Regions from separate parts of the Homo sapiens genome. Here all the other regions are linked to region 3. The links are contacts of gene promoters, found by promoter capture Hi-C in human tissues and cell types (Jung and others, 2019). All regions are on one chromosome and are shown on one strand. The core of a region is centred on a gene start or on the middle of the fragment in contact, and the rest is flanking DNA. Distances in the headings are between cores, read along the strand shown.

What was found. The method cuts DNA at HindIII sites, captures the fragments that hold promoters and counts their contacts. A contact is called where the count stands out against the background at its distance.
Region 1: a contact is called between a fragment that was not itself captured here and the fragment with the promoter of GDPD1 in region 3, in 1 of the 25 tissues and cell types used here (small bowel).
Region 2: a contact is called between a fragment that was not itself captured here and the fragment with the promoter of GDPD1 in region 3, in 4 of the 25 tissues and cell types used here (bladder, dorsolateral prefrontal cortex, lymphoblastoid cells and 1 more).
Region 4: a contact is called between a fragment that was not itself captured here and the fragment with the promoter of GDPD1 in region 3, in 1 of the 25 tissues and cell types used here (hippocampus).

The regions. Positions count from the first base shown.
Region 1 is chr17:59,347,588-59,350,900 of GRCh38, forward strand. All of the region lies in intron 1 of YPEL2 (yippee like 2), which reads left to right. Among named protein-coding and RNA genes, the nearest start is that of MIR4729, 17 kb to the right of the region's middle. The HindIII fragment of the contact is 6,533 bases long and covers 1-3,313 here.
Region 2 is chr17:59,425,924-59,429,537 of GRCh38, forward strand. No RefSeq gene overlaps it. Among named protein-coding and RNA genes, the nearest start is that of MIR4729, 62 kb to the left of the region's middle. RefSeq lists a silencer at 1,791-1,920. The HindIII fragment of the contact is 4,924 bases long and covers 1-3,614 here.
Region 3 is chr17:59,219,133-59,222,267 of GRCh38, forward strand. GDPD1 (glycerophosphodiester phosphodiesterase domain containing 1) reads left to right here and starts at 1,379. Exons shown (of 10, transcript NM_182569.4): 1 at 1,379-1,619. The coding sequence starts at 1,478. RefSeq lists an enhancer at 1,405-1,955. The HindIII fragment of the contact is 11,394 bases long and covers 1-3,135 here.
Region 4 is chr17:59,365,343-59,368,775 of GRCh38, forward strand. All of the region lies in intron 2 of YPEL2 (yippee like 2), which reads left to right. MIR4729 (microRNA 4729) reads left to right here and starts at 741; the gene lies at 741-812. RefSeq lists enhancers at 310-1,079, 1,080-1,849 and a silencer at 2,406-2,700. The HindIII fragment of the contact is 4,265 bases long and covers 1-3,417 here.

The DNA.
Region 1 (3,313 bases), core at 495-2,994, 130 kb after region 3:
GAGATGCTTACCTTCAGGCTGTTGAGAGCATGGCCACTGAGGAAGCACCTCTTAGAAGGACCTCAATACTAACGCATGCCTGTGGTTCCTCCAATATTATTGCCGCCTTGTCTCATCTTGAAAAGAGAATTCTAGATTTGGGGAGATGTCCCAGTGGTATCATCTCAAAGAGATGCTTGAAGACAAGTTAAAGGATCCTAATGGAAGGGGCAGGCTGGAATTTGGCTACACACAGGCATCAGGTTCAACATAAATAGGAAAGAGGAAAAATAGGATGTTCCCAAAGGACCCCAAACTCCATGTCTGTCTGAACTCTCAGGCCTTCTCCTTTTTCTTTTTCTTTCTTTTTTTTTAAGCAGCAGCATCTGTTTTTCTCCCCCATTGGCCATTAAAAATAATAGATGAAATTTTGGTGTGTATTGTGCGCCAGCTCTGTGTAAGCACTGAGATCATCTCACTTAACACCTAGAACCCCTGTGGAGGTTGGTCTTATTAGAGATAGGGAAGCTGAGGGTCAGAGTGGTTTCGTAACTTGCCAGAAGTCACGCAGCTAGAAAGGAGCAGAACTGGTTTGTGTGAGTCCAGAGCCCACTTCTTTTCCAGTCTTCACCTCCTCTCAGACACCCCATGGAAACAACAACACAGAGGCATGCCTTGGGGCCAGCCTTGTCTCATGTCTGGAGGAATTCCTTCCTGTAGAGAGTCCCACTTCTCAGGTCAGTTTCCGTGGCTCGGCATGTGGTGGTCCAGCCTTGCTTCCACATCATTCCTCACGTTCCTTTGTGGCTTAACAAGAGCGTCCCATCTCCCGCCCCTCCATCCTGGTGGCACTCAGAAGGTTCTGTTTTGAGTTCCAGCGGCAGTTACTCCCTTTTGGGGAAGGCCTGTTGGCCGGGGAGGCGGCATGGGGTGGGGGCTGGCCAGGTTGGCATGTGCTCCCTGTGCATTTGTCTCTCGAGGTGGTGTATCGAAGATCTTTGTTTTTAATCATAATATCTCACATATTTTCTTTCTGTGCTGCTCAGTGAAAGCTAGCTAGGGGTGGCGGCAAATCTTCCTTTAATTTCCACTGTGATGGATTATTAGTTCACTTAAAATGGTGTTTAATTTGCACATGTGCCCTGAGGCTTTTAAATATTAAGCTCATTTGATGACTGTTGGAAATCAATTTGGAACTCCACAGTTATGTTCTATGAGTTGGACTCATGAAGCCCCATGGACCCTGTTGCCCCATTAACAGGGGCTAAAGTTCAAAAATTAGAATGATGAGTTAAGCTCCATACTCTTAATTTCTTCCTTTAAAAAAAAATCAATTTTGGCTGGGCGCAGTGGCTCACGCCTGTAATCCCAGCACTTTGGGAGGCCGAGGTGGGCGGATCATGAGGTCAGGAGATCGAGACCACGGTGAAACCCCGTCTCTACTAAAAATACAAAAAGTTAGCCGGGCGTAGTGGCGGGCGCCTGTAGTCCCAGCTACTCGGGAGGCTGAGGCAGGAGAATGGCGTGAACCCGGGAGGCAGAGCTTGCAGTGAGCCGAGATGGCGCCACTGCACTCCAGCCTGGGTGACAGAGCGAGACTCCGTCTCAAAAAAAAAAAAAAAAAAAAAAAAATCAATTTTCTTTCCTAAGAATTGACTCAAAGAAGCTTTTAAAATTTTTGCTTAAAAGGGAAGAAGACAGTGCAGATGTTGATTTTTTGGTCCCCATCTCTCAGCTTGTTCCTCTCATGCAGCCTGCCCTCCCCTTTCTCAGCCCACAGGCCTTTTTTTTCTTTTTTTTTTTTTTTTTTTTGTTGAGACGGAGTCTCGCTCTGTCGTCCAGGCTGCAACCTCCGCCTCCCAGGCTCAAGTGATTCACCTGCCTCAGCCTCTCGAGTAGCTGGGACTACAGCTGGGACTACGGGCGTGCGCTACCATGCCTGGCTAATTTTTGTATTTTTAGTGGAAACAGGGTTTCACCATGTTGGCCAGGCTGGTCTCAAACTCCTGACCTCAAGTGATCTGCCTTGGCCTCCCAAAGTGTCTGGATTACAGGCGTGACCACCTTCCCCGGCCCCCACAGGCTGGCCTTTTGTTTTGTTTTGTTTTGTTTTGAGACAGAATCTCGCACTGTCACCAGACTGGAGTGCAGTGGCACGATCTCGGCTCACTGCAACCTCCACCTCGCAGGTTCAGGCGATTCTCCTGCCTCAGTCTCCTGAGTAGCTGGGACTACAGGCACACGCCACCATGCCCGGCTAATTTTTGTATTTTTGGTAGAGACGGGGTTTCACCATATTGGCCAGGATGGTCTCAATCTCTTGACCTCGTGATCCGCCCGCCTCAGCCTCCCAAAGTGCTGGGATTACGGGCATGAGCCACTGTGCCTGGCCCTACAGGCCTTTCTTGATCCTGCTTCTCCTTGCTTTCTACTTACCTCCTCTCATTTCTTCTAGTTTGTCCTGTACCAGTTGAACAAGATTCATATTTCAGCAAGCCGCTTTTTCTTCCCTTTTTCTTTTCTTTTTTTTTAATGCTCTGTCACCCAGGCTGGAATGCAGTTGGAGTGAACACTGTGCACTGCAGTCTCAACCTCCTGGGCTCAAGTAATCCTCTGGCCTCAGCCTCTCAAGTAGCTGGGATCACAGGCGCGTGCCACCATGCCTGGCTAAGTTTGAATTTTTTGTAGAGTTGAGGTCTTGCCGTGTTGTCCAAGCTGGTCTCGAACTCTTGGGCTCAAGCAATCCTCCTGTTTCAAAGTGCTAGGATTATAGGTGTGAGCCACCGCATCTGGCTTTTCCTTTTTTCTTCTTAGGAAAGGAGTCCCTCTCTAGGATGCCTGTTTATTCATATTTAAGAGCAATGGGGAGCAGAGTGACCCTGCCACAGCAAAATGTAAGGCTTCTTGTCTAGGCCTTCCAGAGCCTTTCTAGCACCAGACAGCCTGGGCCATTGCTTATATGGTAGATTTTTCTCTTGTCTTTTTAGGTTCAGAGCTGTGGTGAGGATGGAATGTGCATGTGTGTGTTTGTATGTGACACACTCACATTTAATACAAACAAGAAATGCTTATTTCACAGAAGGTAGCTTTGAATAAGTTTCGGGATTCAGATTTGAAGCTGAACATAACCAGAAACTTCTACCTGTAAACTTTTTTTGGGGGTTTCCTTCAGAGGAGAAGTGAGAGAAGAAATAATTCTACTCTGGGGAAATGTATAATTTAGAAGCTGTCTGCATGTATAAGAAAACAGACTCTGTATCTGCTCTCTAAACTCAGCCTGGCAGCCAGGGTCATTGTTTCTTTTTCTCCCCTCTGTGTTTGTGTAAGACGGATG
Region 2 (3,614 bases), core at 576-3,075, 210 kb after region 3:
CTAGTTTTCGAGTGATCGAAGGCCCCACAGCCTTCAGCACTGGAGTCATTTAGAGGTCATGGTGAAAGGACTGGCTCCCTCCTTGCCTCCATTTAAGCAGAAGCTGCGAGAAAGCCCCCAAAGCCTTGGGTCATGTCTCCAACAGGCTCGGGTGAGTGGGAAGTTCGGCCTCATAGAAGGCCCCTTGCTGGTGCGGTTCATGAGGACGATAAATTAGCAAAGCTGAGGTGCGCCCATCACGGTGAGCAGTTCTCTATTGCTTCTCTTCTGGGGAATGAACAGGCTTCATTTGCTTTTCCCTGAGGCCAGGTTTCTAACCCAAATCTGTCCCTGGAGTCTTTGGCCTGAAATAAGAAAGGAGTCTTGAGTCAGCAGGAGAGCCACTCCTCACTATGAATTACACAGCAACTCCTTGTGGATCTGCCCGTACCCTTCCCCCGGGCACACATCAATCAATCGAAGTATTTCTCAAATATCTACCCCATACCCAGAACTGGGCATTTAGGTACGTGGTTCAAGTTTCAGATTCTTCCAGCAAATGGTTTGTATGGGGTAAGAAAAAGGATTGGAGGTCAGGTAGGCAGCTGAGTAATCCCCAACTCTGCCTTTTTAAAAGTGGTTTCAGTTGCGCATCCTTGGAATTGATTCTGGGCAGCTGTTAATTGCAAAACTCACTGCCAATTATCGATAGCTAAAGTGGCATTGGAGAGCTTCTCATGGTAAAAATAGGGGCAGGTAATAGATGAGAAAATAGCTTTACATTTGAGAAGAGAGGATGGGAACATATTGTCTCAATCTTGCTGTGTTCGAGGTTTCCTTTGTCAGCCTGGGTTCTCTCCCAAGACTGGCCAGCAAAGTCTACTTAGTGACCTCCAGCAAATAGTCCACCAGCAAGCTACTTAAGATTAGAGCAGGCTGGGCGTGGTGGCTCACGCCTGTAATCCCAGGACTTTGGGAGGCTGAGGCGGGTGGATCACGAGGTCAGGAGATCGAGACCATCCTGGCTAACATGGAGAAACCCCGTCTCTACTAAAAATACAAAAAATTAGCTGGGCGTGGTGGTGGGCGCCTGTAGTCCCAGCTGCTCGGGAGGCTGAGGCAGGAGAATGGCATGAACCCGGGAGGCGGATGTTGCAGTGAGCTGAGATCGTGCCACTGCACTCCAGCCTGGGCAACAGAGCAAGACTCCGTATCAAAAAAAAAAAAAAAAAGATTAGAGCAAAACTTTATCTTGGCAGCAAGAACAGAGGGGATCTCTGCTGAGTTCAGGGCATCCTGTTTCTCACCGGGCTCAGTCACATTAAACAGCCAATACCAGTTTTAGGAAAATCCATGTTGAATTTTAAATGTATTTTGGCTCATTTGGGGGGTTATGATTGTCCAATTCAGCTGGTAGTTTGTGTATCAAACTTCAAATCGACAAACGATGTTTATTCAAGGAAGTTTCTTGAAGCCTAGATGGTACATGTTTACCTTAAAAAGCAAAACCAAAAAATTCCAAAAAACAGAAACAGGAAAAAGTGCCCTGGTGAGTAAAACCAAAAGCATGTGGCAGACAGACACAATGCAGGCCTGAGTATTTTGAACAATGCTCATGGCCCCAGCCTTGACACTGGGGAAACTGGGAATGTGGTCGCAGACTTCCTATGTCAAGTGTTTCCCTGGATTTCCTGGAATCCAACTTGAAGTGCCATTTCCCCTGGTGCCACCAAGGAGTTAAGCTTTGGTTCTGTTCTCCCAGTGACTAAGAATGCTCTGTGTGGCTCTGAGATCATCCAGAAAGAAACTGACAGTCGGCGTGGGAAGAGTGTGAGCTTTCAGTGCTCTTGAAATGCCTTTGATGGGCATGGTGAGAGAGCAAAAGGCTTATTGCCACCTAGTGCCCCTGATTGTGTAATTTCGTCGTGAATTCTTGTTTCTTCTTTTGAATTTTGCATAATTTTAAATGAAGATCTCTAACTCCTTGGGGAGCTTGATATTGTGATGTGTGAGTTATTCTATGGAGCTATTCTATGTGAGCTATTCTATATTTTAGACAGCAAACGTATCCCACCACTTGGAAATATCACCCATTTTGATTGAAAACAAAGTAGAATCAATGACCTGACCAAATCACACGTGTGTGTGTGAGGGAGACTGGGTCTTTCCACTCCTGATGTTTTCTTTCTTCTGAAAGGAGTCCAAACACTCCTTGCTTCTCTCCACCCGCCCCCTCTTCCCTGAGAAGGAGGAGTGGTTTAATATGACTGGTGAGTTTGGAAGGAGGAACTGTGCCTTATATCATCCTCTCTTTTCTTCTTGGGAGCAAGCTTCGCTCCCGTGGGGTGGGAAGAGTAGGCCCATTCCAGCTCAGCTGCCTGTCATCGAGCCGCCAAGTCTGCCTAACTCTGAAGTTGAGTATCGGGAAGCTCGATTGTCTGATGATATAAGCCACGTTCTCTAATATCAGCTTTATCAGTAGAAAAGGTTATTTTTGGTCCTCATCTAGCTTGCTGCTATCTTCTGATTCAATTCAAAATTCACAGAGAAGGGAGCAGACTGCTATTTTGGGGCCTCCTCAAAGACCCCAACATATTTACTGGAAGATTTCCTGTGATTAGAAAAATCCCAGTGTTGGGGTAAGGTCCAACTTATAGATCCACATCATCACTTTCTTATATAACACCAGATTCCTTAGCTGTCAGCTGAGTAAAAGAGAGTTTATGGGTGTTCCTTGCAGCTAAAATGCATCCATTCAAAAGTTATTTATTGAATCCTTACCACGTGCCAGGGGACACATAAGTGATCAAGAGAAACAGTCTTGGGCCGGGCGCAATGGCTCACGCCTGTAATCCCAGCATGTTGGGAGGCCAAGTTGGTTGGTCATTTGAGGTCAGGAGTTTGAGACCAGCCTAGCCAACATGGTGAAACCCCATCTCTACCAAAAATACAAAAAATTAGCCAGGCATGGTGGCAGACACCTGTGGTCCCAGCTACTTGGGAGGCCGAGGCACAAGAATCACTTGAACCCAGGAGGCGGAGGTTGCAGTAAGCCAAGATCACACCACTGCACTCCAGCCTGGGTGACGGTAGTGAAACTCTGTTTCAAAACAAAAAAAAAAGAAAGAAAAAAAAGAGAGAGACACAGTCCCTGCTGTCACACAGTTTATAATTTAACTAGGGTGTATCAATTTAAAAGTTTAATGTTTCAAGTGAAAGAAAACAATCTCAAATAGGCTTGAGTAATACAGGAATTTATTGTCTCACTGGAGATCCAGGCACAATTTGATCCAAGATTCAAACAGCATGGATCCATTTCTTGGCTCTGCTTCCTTTGAGTTGGATTCATTCTTTAGCCACCACATGTTGGAACCCCTCTCTCCTGGCAGCTTCAAGTTTTCCACGACGGCTGCAGCAGATCTAAGACATACCATTTACCAGGCTGACAAGAGTCCAAGTTCCAGCAATCCCTGGAGGTCCATCCTGAGAAGGCCATCTCAGGTTATAGACCAGCATAAATCGGGAGCTCACAGGACAGAAGACACTGATTGGCTCACGCCCAGTGGGGCCCACCCCCTGATATGGGAAAGTTGGGCCCTTTCCACTTCCAGAAATTTGGGCACCTATTTGGAAGG
Region 3 (3,135 bases), core at 129-2,628:
AGTGCAGTGGCGCCTTCTCGGCTCATTGCAACCTCTGCCTCCCGGGTCCAAGAGATTCTCCTGCCTCGGCCTCCTGAGTAGCTGGGATCACAGGCACACGCCACCACCCCTGGCAAATTTTTGTATTTTTAGTAGAGATGGAATTTCGCCATGTTGGCCAGGCTCCTGACTTCAAATGATCTGCCCGCCTCAGCCTCCCAAAGTGCTGGGATTACAGGCTTGAGCCACCGTGCCCAGCCACCCCCTATTTTCTTCTAATTTTCTTTTTATAGTTGAGATAGGGTCTTGCTCTGTCGCCCAGGCTGGGGTGCAGTGGTGCAGTCATAGCTCACTGCAGCCTCGATTTTCCAGGCTCAAGCAATACTCCCACTTCAGCCTCCCAAGTAGCGTGACTACAGGTGCACGCCACCACGCCGGGCTTATTTTGTTTTATTTTTTGTAGAGATGGGGTTTCGCCATGTTGCCCAGGCTGGTCTCGAACTCCCGGGCTCAAGCGATCCACCCTTCCTTCCCGGCCTCCCTAAGTGCTGGGATTACAGGCGTGGGCCACCGCGCCCGGCTGAATCAGGATTTTAAATATTCACTCTGCTTTTCTAGTCCTGTGGGAGATATGGTCTTCTCCGTAAAATTTCTCCCTCAGTCCTGGGTGATTTATTTCTTTTGCATTGAAGTGTGTGGCTTTTCGTGTGTTAGCAGTTTGTAATTTGTCGGGTAAAAGGAAAACTAGTAGGGCCTTCTGGAACTTAGTTATCTGTCTTTCTAGGACTTTTAGGTAATACCTTATAACCTTAACAAAGTTTCCTTATTTTATACGGACTTGTAAGTCAACAAATACTTCTACAGTGCCTATTGTGTACAAAGAATGAGGATTGCACTTTCACAATGAAATGAGGGAGGACAGGGGCCGATCTCTCAGATATTTGACTGATAAACCAGTACCTTTTCTAGTATATGCGACCATAGGGGAAATTCTCTCTAGGCTAGATAAACGGAGGAGTTTATTTAGTGTTTTAGCAAGCTTTATCGCCTCCATAGGTACAAATTATTTGCATTTTCTAGAGCAAGGGATAAGACGCGCCCTGGAATCTTTCCTTTTTGATGTGGATTTTCCAATTAGGAAAGGCTGCCCGTGAATAGTCTTTTCTGCTTGAGTGATGGCCAACACACTGGCAGGTTTGCAAGCTTTCTCTTCATGAGGGTCCGTCCACAGAGCTAGGTGACAAACGCTCAGTCCAGGATCTCTGCAGGTTCCTACACGGGAGCCGGAGAGCGCCTGCGCGTCGGAGCCTCTTTGTTGCTGGGGCGCTGGGGTCCAGCTGCGCGTGCGCAGTAGGCCGGCACCGACAAGTGCGCTGCACCAGTGGCACCGGCTGGGGGCGAGCCGACCTCGAGCAGCCGCCGCCGCCGCCGTCGTTGCTACTGCCGCAGCGGAGTTCAGAGGGCCCGGAGGTGGGAGACTTCCCACACGGTGACTGAGATGTCGTCCACTGCGGCTTTTTACCTTCTCTCTACGCTAGGAGGATACTTGGTGACCTCATTCTTGTTGCTTAAATACCCGACCTTGCTGCACCAGAGAAAGAAGCAGCGATTCCTCAGTAAACACATCTCTCACCGCGGAGGTGAGAGGGGTCCCCAGAACCCGATGACGGAGGTGGGGGAGGCTGAGGGTCCTTTGCGGCTCCGCAAAAGGCAGCCGGGTGCCAATCCCTGAGAGTTTGAGGAAGAATGGGGTTGTGTGAATTGAGGGCTCTTCCGGAGGTGAAGGCTGTGTGAAGGGAAGGTCTCCTGAGGGGAGGGAAGGAGAGGGATTCCCGGTCAGAGCCACGGCGGGGGTCTCTCGAGGGCAGCAGTGTGAGGGGTTCTCTGAAACGGGAAAGACACGGTCGAGAATGAAGGGTAGGTGGAGCGTTTCTCGGCGGATGGAAGGATGATCGCAAGGTCCCTTCCTAGCAGCAAGACACAAAGGGGGAGCGCCGTGCAGAACCGAGGGTACCCCGCGGGGGGCACCGGGAGCACACTGCTCCGAGCGAGCTAGTGGCTGAGTGGATGGGAAGAGCCGAGGCGACGAGGAGGGCTGGGGATTTGCATGAAGCTGGACGAGCTGTAACCCCTTGTCTGCGGTGCTGGGGGCCCGTCCCACCCCCACGTTCCGAGCACTCATAATTGAGAAGAGAGGGAAACCGAGTCCCCCGAGCCAGGGACATTTCCCAAGGTCACAATTAGAGCTAGGGCTGAACTGAGACAGGAGCTACAGCGTCCTGGTCCTCAGGGCTGGAAACCTTGCATCTTTTTTTTTTTTTTTTTGAACACTGCAATAAATAAATAAATAAATAAATAAATAAATAAACACGCAAAGACACGTGGATTTTCAACAGACTAAAAATGATTTCGTTTAGGACAGGACAGTATTGTTTAAAGAAAACAAAAATAAGTTTCTTTTGGAAAAGTGTTTTGCTAAAAGGAGCCCAGGTAGTCCACCCTCTAATTTCCCAGATAACAGGCCAAATCTTTGCTTCTTCATTATTGTGTAATAATGTGTCTTCATTGCATTTCAACTATGATGTATAAAGTGCGGTGAAATTGGATTATTTTCAATCAATTTTAACTGTTCTTTAAGGCTGAATCTTAAACCGGTTTAAAATTTGCTTGAAATTTAATACACACTTGAAATGATAATTTCTAGGAGTTTACAGTCTAAAACTTGGTGTAGTACCATAATCACTTTACTAACAAGTATTGGCCAAGGAAAAAGGTTTTGAAATATAAATACGGAAGTACATTATCATTCTTCTATATAATTTTATTAGTTAAGCATAGTTCTAATGAGTGACTTCAATAGTATTCTAGCCTTCCCACTCATGAAAAGCCTCAGAGGTTTTAAAGGGTGGTCAGCCAAATGCCTTGTTATTGTTTATTTGGGTTATCTGTTTTAATAGCTACCTGGTTAAACTGTAGGATGACATTTAACTACTAAGGTGCCTTCAACCATTGGAACCAGGGACCGACTTTTAGTATTCAAGTTGCTGTCACAGAAGCAATTTTCTTTTTTCTTTTTGTGTTTTTGTTTGTTTGTTTTTTTGTTTGTTTGTTTTGAGATGGAGTCTCGGTCTGTCACCCAGGCTGAAGTGCAGTGGC
Region 4 (3,433 bases), core at 35-2,534, 150 kb after region 3:
TGGGGCCTTACCTGCAGGCAGCAGCGAAGCCTCTCTAGAATGTAAATGGAAAAGCCTGTCCCTGCCTCCTTCCCTTTTAGTCTGTCAGGTGGTTACTGTGCCTCTGACCCACCCGAGGACCTCAGTTGGCTGTGACACAGCAGCCCAGGCGGCTGGAAGAGAAGTCCCTGGCCTGGAGAGTGAAGCTGGAGCTGAGAGTTGCTTGTCAGTTTGATTCCTTCTGTGACACTTCGGGTGGGGGGGAATCTTTTGAAAGAAACCACTTTCTTTATCTTGAAAGAACAAAACCAAAAGAGAATCTCTGATAACCTTTGTTTCCAAAGCACTCAGCAAAGCTGCTGAGAGGAGGGTTTGACCTGGTGACCCAGAGTATTATCTCTGGGGTAAGGGCTGCCCAGCCAAGGGGAGCTTTAGCTGTTTCCCTCCTCTCCCTGGCTTATTGCTGGTGGCTGGACAGTGAGTTGGAGGAGGAGGGGGAGAGGAAGAGAGGAGGAGATGGCTCTGCCAGCTGCCGCTAGAAACAACAACATCTAATCAGTCCATAAACTCCCTCCCCTCCAGACTACAGTGATGTCAAGAGGTGGAGCAGGTGGCACTAGTTCTCCCCTCCCCTTTAGCCCCTGACACCTTTGGGTCTTTGAAGGGGTAAATTATGATCATCAAAAGGAAAATTCTCTATCTTTGGGGGCCCAGGAGCTCCTTTTCCTTCTTGTTAGGGTTGGCTCCACCAAGAGCAATTTTCTGTTTCCTCATTTATCTGTTGGGAAGCTAACTGTGACCTTAGCGTCCCAGCAGATAAATGAGGAAACAGAAAAGTGTTTCCTCACCAAAACAAAAAATCCCTGAGCAAACCCTCCTGCAGAGGGCCCTGTCATTTATTCCACATTGTGTGAGCTCCTCTTACGTGTTAGACCCTGGGAATTACAGTGGCAAACAGATGCAAGCTTTGCCTTCACTGAGCCTGTCACACGGTACCCTTTGGTTCCTGGAAGACCCAGCACCTGAAAAAGCGGTTGGTGGCAGCAGCAACAAGGATCTCCTTCCTGAGCCTGGCCCCTAAGGTTATCCGGGGCAGCTGAAAAACCAGCATTTCCATAGTGCTTTCCATTCAGTTTGCCTAATTTTCATGAGAGGCTGAAGTGCCTTTTGTTTCCCTGATGGTCCCTGTCCTCCCCTGCAGAGTCGGCCTGAGCTAGCCCAGCCGAGTCGGGCAGCCCCTTGTTCTCTGATGCATCTTTGGAGGAATGTCTGTATTCTCAGGACCAGGCCTCTCCCCACTGGGTGGGGGCTGCTTTGTTTACATTCCTGACCTTCTGAAAGCTGCCAGCTTTATCCACAGCTGGCCTTTCCCCTTCAGATGCCAAATGTTCCAAACGACAGGTACAACTCTGAGAGGGCCGTTAAGGTTCATGCCAGAAACATTCACCTAGGAAGCCTGAGGAGAGAGGAAGCCAGTGAAACTAGACTTCATGGAGCTTTTTGAAGCTCGAAGCCCCCATATTTCTTGATTCTTCCCGCAGCGGGAGAAAAAAAGAAAAAACACAAAGTGTGTCTGTGTGGGAGGAGAGTTCCTCCCTGTCCATCTCTTTCTCTATAAAAACAAGAGGCCAACCTGCTCTGAGCATCGTGGGGGCAGGTGCTGGGTAAATACACGAGAAAGGAAAGCCAATAAGATAAGGTCTGACAAATCTAGGTCACCCGGCTGCTGCCAGGTACCTGTGTGACTGGCCACCTTGAAACTGACAGGAGGAGTATGGACTTTTGTTCGAGGCTCAGCCTGGCTGATTTCTCATGTCTTTGTTTATTTATTCAGTAAACATTAATTGAGTGCCATTATGTGCCAGGCCATGTGCTAGGTGTTGCAGGTCCCTGTGTGCCTCTGACAGGCAAAATCTCCTCCTGGATCCCAGGCCTGTAACCAGGGCTAAAAAAAGAAATGACTTCATTCAAAAGCCAGTTGGTTCACTAACTTCCAGAGTAGGGGCAGCCAGTCCCTTGGTAGAAGGGAGGGGCTGTTTGCAGTCTTGATTCCCTGTTTTTTGGGCTAGATCCAAAGGTCTGCAAAACTTTTTCTATAAAGGCCAGATAGTATTTTACGCTTTGCTGGACATAGGGTCTCCACTCAAATCTGCAGCCACAGAGAATATATAAACAAATGAGCATGGATGTTTTCCAGAAAAACTTTATTTGCAAAACAGGTGAAAGGCCCAATTAGGCCCTTGGACTGGTTTACTTAACCCTAGGTAAGATGATTAGAATGACTGTTGTGAAATGGGTGTTGGAGAAATAGGTTTCTGTGATTTCAAGAGGAATCTCAAACCAGCATGGTGGCTTGTATGAAGAGTGTAGGGGTTGAGGCACTGTGCTAATTGACAAGGTCTTAATTGACACCCTGGTGAGAATTCTATTCCATAGGCCAGACTTCAGCCCCAGCCGTCTAGCACCCACAGGTTCCCACCATAGGTTACAAGGTGATCAAGCCAGATAGGGCACATAGTTTCCTACAGTGTCATCACTGTAATGGGAAGACAGTGTGGGGCCCTGCTGAGGAGAGTCTGTGGCACCATTTGAAAAGCCTTGAATGAGGGTCAAGCCACCTCTGCTCCAGACCTGGCTTTGTGCTAAATTTTCAGTGTGGCATTGAGCAAGTCACTTAACCTCCCTCATCACCCTGCATATATTAAATCCTACTGTATGAAGCACTGGGGATACAGAAATGGATACAAATACAGAAATGGATGAAATTCTCTTTTTTTTTTGAGACAGAGTCTCACTCTGTTGCCCAGGCTAGAGTACAGAGGCATGATCACAACTCACTGCAGCCACAACTTCCCAGGCTCAGATGATCTTTTCACCTTAGTCTCCTGAGTAGCTGGGACTACAGACATGCGCCACCATGTCCGGCTAATTTTTCTATTTTTTGTAGAGATGAGGTTTCTCCATATTGCCCAGGGTGGTCTAAAATTCCTGGGCTCAAGTGATCAGCCCGCCTTGGCCTGCCAAAGTGCTGGGATTGCAGGCGTGAACCGTGCACTTGCCTGGAATTCTTGCCCTTAAGTAGCTTATGATCTAATGGGGAAGGCAAATAGATAAACAGTGATAAAATGTAGTGAAACACAGTCATTGTTTCACTGTAAGTGATTGTTCCAGATGTTATGAGGGTAAAGAGCAGGATGAATGTTTACTAAGATGAGTGTTTAGAAGCATTTACTAAGTGGACAAGAAGACGAAGACAAGAGGAGTCCATTCTGAGCAGAGACAGAGAAACATGACACGAGGCCAAGTCCAGGGACCACAGGGAAGACAGATGGGGAGTCTGTGCTTTAGGGAAGCAGGTCAGGGTGGATCATGCAAGGCCTAGAAGGCCAAACTAAGGAGTTTAGACAGAGTTCTGGATGCTGTGAGGAGCTGCTAAAAGGTTTTAAGCAAAGGA